2 separate regions of the Homo sapiens genome follow, and region 1 is linked to region 2. Evidence: promoter capture Hi-C in human tissues and cell types (Jung and others, 2019). All regions are on one chromosome and are shown on one strand. Each heading gives the region's core, a stretch centred on a gene start or on the middle of the fragment in contact. The rest is flanking DNA. Distances are from core to core; before and after follow the strand shown. Region 1 has its middle 9.4 kb from the start of GLT6D1. Region 2 holds the start of PAEP (progestagen associated endometrial protein).

Region 1 (2,923 bases), core at 407-2,906, 87 kb after region 2:
GAAGTCCGATTTGCTGAAGTCCAGGAGTATCCCCTTCTACCCCAGAGAATCCCTGATCTCCCAACATTCGGTTGAGATCTGAGGTTTCTTTTGCTGAGCAACTCCTTTTCTGGAGTTTCAGCTCGATTCCAACAGGGAAGGCGAGTTTGGGACTTTTCCTGTTTCTGAGACAGTAGAGAGCAGTCTTCAGCCTGGGCCCCATTTCTAGGTAAGTAGCTGAATTGGAGTTTTGTCTTGAAAATTCTCCCTCATGACTAAAAGTTAAGATTGACCACCGCCTGGTCTTCATTTCTGCTTCCATTAGAGAGCTCAGTAATCATATTGCCAGAAATTATAAGTTCCTCTTCAAAGCTTCTTTGGTCTTTCTTGCTCTGTACACAGCCCTTCCTGCTTAATCTGTAATGAGCACTTGTTTTTCTGCTTAATCTGTAACCTGCAAACCTCTTACTCTGTAAACAACTCTTCCCACCTAGTTGGTAAGGAACAGCCTCTCCCTTCCCGCATAATTGGCCTTATTCAATTTCAAACACTAGCCAATCGGGTCAGTTTAGACTGTGCAGTCCAACTCCAGCCAATGGGGAAAGGACACAGAAACAGGAACTGCATCAGCCAATGGGGAAAGGACACAGAAACAGGAACTGCATTAGGGGTAAAAACCCCTGCCCTCCCAGCTTGGTGTGCTCTTGCGATTGTGACTGATGCAGGCAGCACCCTTCTGCAGAAGTAAATGTGCCTTGCTGAGAAATTTTCTGCCTGGTTTTCTTTGCAGCACCAAGCATTTTTTTCTAACAATATAGTTTGGTTTCATTGTCGTTTTGGTCTTTCTCCCATTGGATTTGACCATCTCTACCTGACTTGGCCAAATCTGAATGAGAATTCCACACTATGGGTAACAAGCCCTCTGGATTGGCTAAAATTCCTTGAAGCTGCAAAAGAGAAAAAAAAAACATTCACTTGATTTCTCTGTGTGCTTCCTTTCTTAAAAAATTATTCTTTTATTTTTCTTCCACCCTATTTCTCCCAAAAAGGGGAAGCCCTTTTGCCATCTTTGGTACCAAGTGAAAAAAATGTCTACAGAAGGGTTCTAATTGAAGCGGCGTTGTTGTCTGGGGTAAATACCTGAGGTTTGTCATCTCACACCAGGGAAGTTGAGGATGCAGACACACAAGAAGTGAGTTTAAGATCAGAGGCTTAATAGGCAAAGGAAAGAGAAAAGAGGATAGCTCTCTCACCTGCGGAGAGAGAGGGGCGTCTGAGTGGGTCTTCCAGGTCCTTGGTGAAATGCACGAGGTTTTATAGACGAGCTTGAGGAGGCAATATCTGATTTACATAGGACATGAGAGATTGGTCAGACTAGGCATGCCATTTGCATAGTGCACAAAGAAGCTGGCCGACCCACCCTAATCTTTTATTATCCAGATGGGGTCTCTACCTGGCCAGTGTCATATTGCCTGCCTTTTACCACACAGGTGGCGACCAAGAAAAGGGAAGGGGGATCCTTCATGTTGAACAGACTTGGCTTCCAGGTATCCCTCTTCTATCACCACAGCTGCTAGCATTTACCTATGTAAGCTTTTAGCTTGTTTATCTATACTTGCAGCTTGATTTTTCAGGCTGCTTTTTGTTAGGAAAGAAATGATTGGGGGCTGCTTTTTATTAAAAGGAAACCTTGCTGAGGACTCTCTTACCCTCCTTATCTGCCTGAATTTCTTTCTCACTCCTGTATCATAATGACTTGGATCCTTAAATAACTCAGAATAAAGGCACCACTCACCCTGTGCGGGGGTGTTCTGCTTTCTGTGTGGAGTTTTCAGAGTCATGGCAGGTTTTTCTTAGGTCTAAAGTTCTGCTTTCCTGTATTGCATTACTTGACTTCTTTGACTTTTAGAGATACCAGAGATTACTCTGTACTGTGAGAATATTTGACCTTGGTGTGTGTCATGGCAGATGAGAGCTACAACGTTAGGGAAGGCTGAGGACAGTTTACAGGAAATGGTCATTACTACAGGGGGCCACTCATTGCACATTTAGATCAGAAAATTGTGCATGCTTTCTTGGCTCTGTTCCTTAGAGGGCTCCACCCTAAAGCCAGTGACCTAATCAAGCTCCGCTGAAAATACTACCTATCAAACTAAGTCACTTCAATAAAATTCTGTGTAAAGGAAATTTATGTCTTTAAAGGAAATTTCCATTTTGTAAGGACATCTCTGTCTCTGCGTCTAAACCACTAGGAACTTTAACTAAGGGGGAGACAATGGCTTCATTTACATAACAGACCTTGCCTTTTTTAGATCCAAGTCTGTGCCTTTGAGATGTACATTTTTTACCTTGCTTCACCTAAGTCATGTATTTGGAGATGTAAATTTAGAGTTACCTAGTTAACAATTGTTTAAGACATGGAATAGATAATCAAGAGATTAGTGGTATAAAGTAGGGAAGAAAAAAACTTTGAAAACAGGCAAGTGAAACATTTTAAATCCCTAAGATTTGCCTCTGTCTGTGTCTGTTAAGTCTGTGTGTTTATGTGTCACATGGAAACAATATTTCACTACCAATCATATGAAAGAGCTCTAATTAGTTGGCTTAAAGAAAAGTAAGTGTTTGTAGACTAATAGAAGCTAGCCCAGAGGCCTTTCAGCTCACATGACTTTAGTAATCTTTGGTAAGATTAATTTGGTAAATGTAATCTCACAATTCTCTCCAGTAATTGAAAATCTTAAAGTCATGTTGTGTTAAATTAAGTCATCCTAGGTTTTTTGCTGGAAATTAGGGTTTCTAAGAGAATAGTAGGAAAGTAAGATGCATTTTTGGTGAAGTTTATTTAAAAAACATGAGGATGTGGTTTTTGCTCAATGAAACATATTTTTTTTCTAGTTTAAAGGACCTTTCTGCTGGTGTCGAAGATAAAAACCGCTATTCACAT
Region 2 (2,714 bases), core at 88-2,587:
GATTACTTGAACCTGGGATGCAGAGGTTGCAGTGAGTCAAGATCGTACCACTGCACTCCACCCTGGGCAACAGAGCAAGACTTGGCCTCAAAAAAATGTATATATGTATATATGTGTGTGTGTGTGTCACACACATGTCTATAGCTACCTACAAAATATCTTGCTGAGAATTTGATAGGAATTGCATTAAATCTCTAGGTTGAGTTGAGGAGAGCTAACACCTTTGCTGTGTTGAAGCTTCCAGCCCATGAACACATTGTGCCTGTCCTTTACCTTAGGTCTTTGATTTCCCTTCCTTGGGTTCAGAGTTTAAGTCCTGTCCATATTTGGTGAGATTTTTGCCTACATGCTGTGTGTGTGATTACAAATCCTGAATTTCCAGTTTCGGGTTCTGTCTACTCCTTGACACTGTGTGGGAACACGGTGGATTTTTGTGCGATTGACCTTGCTGACCTCACTCGGTTCTAGGAGGGGTTTTGTAGAGTTCTTGCAATTTTGTACCTGGGCAATGATGTTATATGCGAATAGAGACAGGTATACCTCCCCCTTCCCAATCTGCCTGCCTTTAGTTACCATTTCTTGCCTAGCTGCTCTGGCCGGAATGACCTGCTCTGATGGATGGGGGAGTGGGAGTGGACACCCGTGTCTTGCCTCAGGACTCAAGTGCTCTCCAGGGAGTGAGATGCGGGCTCGATTGTAAGTTACAAAGTGATGCTTCCCTGTGGGAAAAAGTACATCCAATATAGACTGTAGGACAAAGTCTGAAAGTCCACTGCCTCCCATTTCCACCCAGTCTTGCCTGTGAGTCAGAGAGAAACAGTGCTAACAGGCAGTGTGCACCTGTCCAGAGGCTGGCTGTTTGAGGGACACAGGTGTGCACACCTGGGGATGTCTGAGTGGAAGGTACAGGTCAGGATTATGACCGTGCAGTCAGTCACCCACTGGCATGATGTCTGTGGCATCCTGGGGCAGCCATGGGGCTCTCAGGCCCTCTGCCTGCCCCACAGGCCATACCCCTGCCCTGGACACAGCTGTCCTCAGTGCTGGCCTCTGACCCAACATTGTCCAGGAGCCCCAACCCAGAAGGTGCTCCCGCCGCTGCCAGCCTGGACCCGACCCAGGCCCCTCCCGCCTGAGGCCCTGCCAAGAACTGCCCAGCCCGGACACAGAGGAGGTTCCCGCGTGGACGCAGGGAAGAGCCTCCCATTGCCCCAGTGGAGGAAGCTGCCCAGGGGCCAAGGATGAGTCACAGGTTCGAGGAATCACATGGCGAGGCTGTGGGCGGGGATCTTGTCTGCCCTCCTCCTACATAAGGCCCCCTGAGCCCACACTGCCTCAGCATCCCTCTGGCTCCAGAGCTCAGAGCCACCCACAGCCGCAGCCATGCTGTGCCTCCTGCTCACCCTGGGCGTGGCCCTGGTCTGTGGTGTCCCGGCCATGGACATCCCCCAGACCAAGCAGGACCTGGAGCTCCCAAAGGTTTGAGGCTGGGGGAGCGGGCACTTTACTGTGGGAGGCCTGGGGCGGGTGGGAGCTGCGGGCAGGCAGGAAGCCCAGGATCTCAGAAACCTACAGGAAGCACAGAATGGACGCCATGACGTCAGGAAGCCCTCAGCCCTGCTCTCCATCTTTAGGGTGGCCTCTCTGGTTTCCCAGCATCCTAGGTGACTCATTATTTGGACTTTGGAACACTCCTGAGTTAGCACACACTGGTCATTTTAAGTACAGGAAATTTCATAGCCCAGGATCTGGTAGATAGCAGACAACCATCCAATGCTCACTGTACCCATCCCAGTTAGACTCAGCCCCGTCTGCACCGGGTGCAACGAGAGCCATGGTGGGGTGGGACCGCCGTGCAGCCCAAGGCCCCCTCAGTTGGCAGGGACCTGGCACTCCATGGCCATGGCGACCAACAACATCTCCCTCATGGCGACACTGAAGGCCCCTCTGAGGGTCCACATCACCTCACTGTTGCCCACCCCCGAGGACAACCTGGAGATCGTTCTGCACAGATGGTGGGTTTCTCATCATTGAGACGGGCTGGGCGGGGGCTCAGTCTCCCCCCTCAGGGGTCCAGGACTGGGTGGGTTGGGCGGAGCTGGACTTAGCCCCAGGCATTTTCTGACAGCCAGGGGCTTCACTGTGGCCCTTCCATGAGGGTGGGGTGGAAAACCAGGGCTCCAGACGTTCCCTGTCCCCTTGGATCCCCTGCCCCAGGCTCTGGGCCAACAGCCAACCACACAGTGCAGCCCCAGGTCAGACTGAGGAGAAGGTCTGGGCGGCTGCGGGCTGCGGTGCTCCTTGGACCCGGGGAAGTTCCCGTGGTGACCTGATTTTAGGAGTGACAGTGAAGGCAACTCCAATTCAAGTGGCCACTCATCCTATTGTCACCACCTTTCAGGGAGAACAACAGCTGTGTTGAGAAGAAGGTCCTTGGAGAGAAGACTGAGAATCCAAAGAAGTTCAAGATCAACTGTGAGTGTCCCCAGGCCCCAAGGGCTGGCTCAGTGCTGGCATGCTAGCCACGCTCTCCCAGAGGCGGCTCTGCTGGGGCATGAGGGAGTGGGGCCTGGCCTGTCCCCACTCTCTCTGCTTCAGGGAGTCAGAGTGTTTACTCCGGTCAACCTGATGCTGACCCCAGAGGCATCTTTTACCTGGAGGGCAGGGGAAGCACTAATTCTTGGCATGACATGACTGGATGTGGGTCTGCACTG

Evidence for each region. The method cuts DNA at HindIII sites, captures the fragments that hold promoters and counts their contacts. A contact is called where the count stands out against the background at its distance.
Region 1: a fragment that was not itself captured here is called in contact with the fragment with the promoter of PAEP in region 2 in 4 of the 25 tissues and cell types used here (adrenal gland, dorsolateral prefrontal cortex, lymphoblastoid cells and 1 more).

What each region holds. Positions count from the first base shown.
Region 1 is chr9:135,647,430-135,650,352 of GRCh38, forward strand. No RefSeq gene overlaps it. Among named protein-coding and RNA genes, the nearest start is that of GLT6D1, 9.4 kb to the left of the region's middle. The HindIII fragment of the contact is 6,544 bases long and covers 1-2,923 here.
Region 2 is chr9:135,560,419-135,563,132 of GRCh38, forward strand. It overlaps PAEP (progestagen associated endometrial protein), which reads left to right and starts at 1,338. Exons shown (of 7, transcript NM_002571.4): 1 at 1,338-1,479; 2 at 1,876-2,015; 3 at 2,402-2,475. The coding sequence starts at 1,384. The HindIII fragment of the contact is 9,434 bases long and covers 1-2,714 here.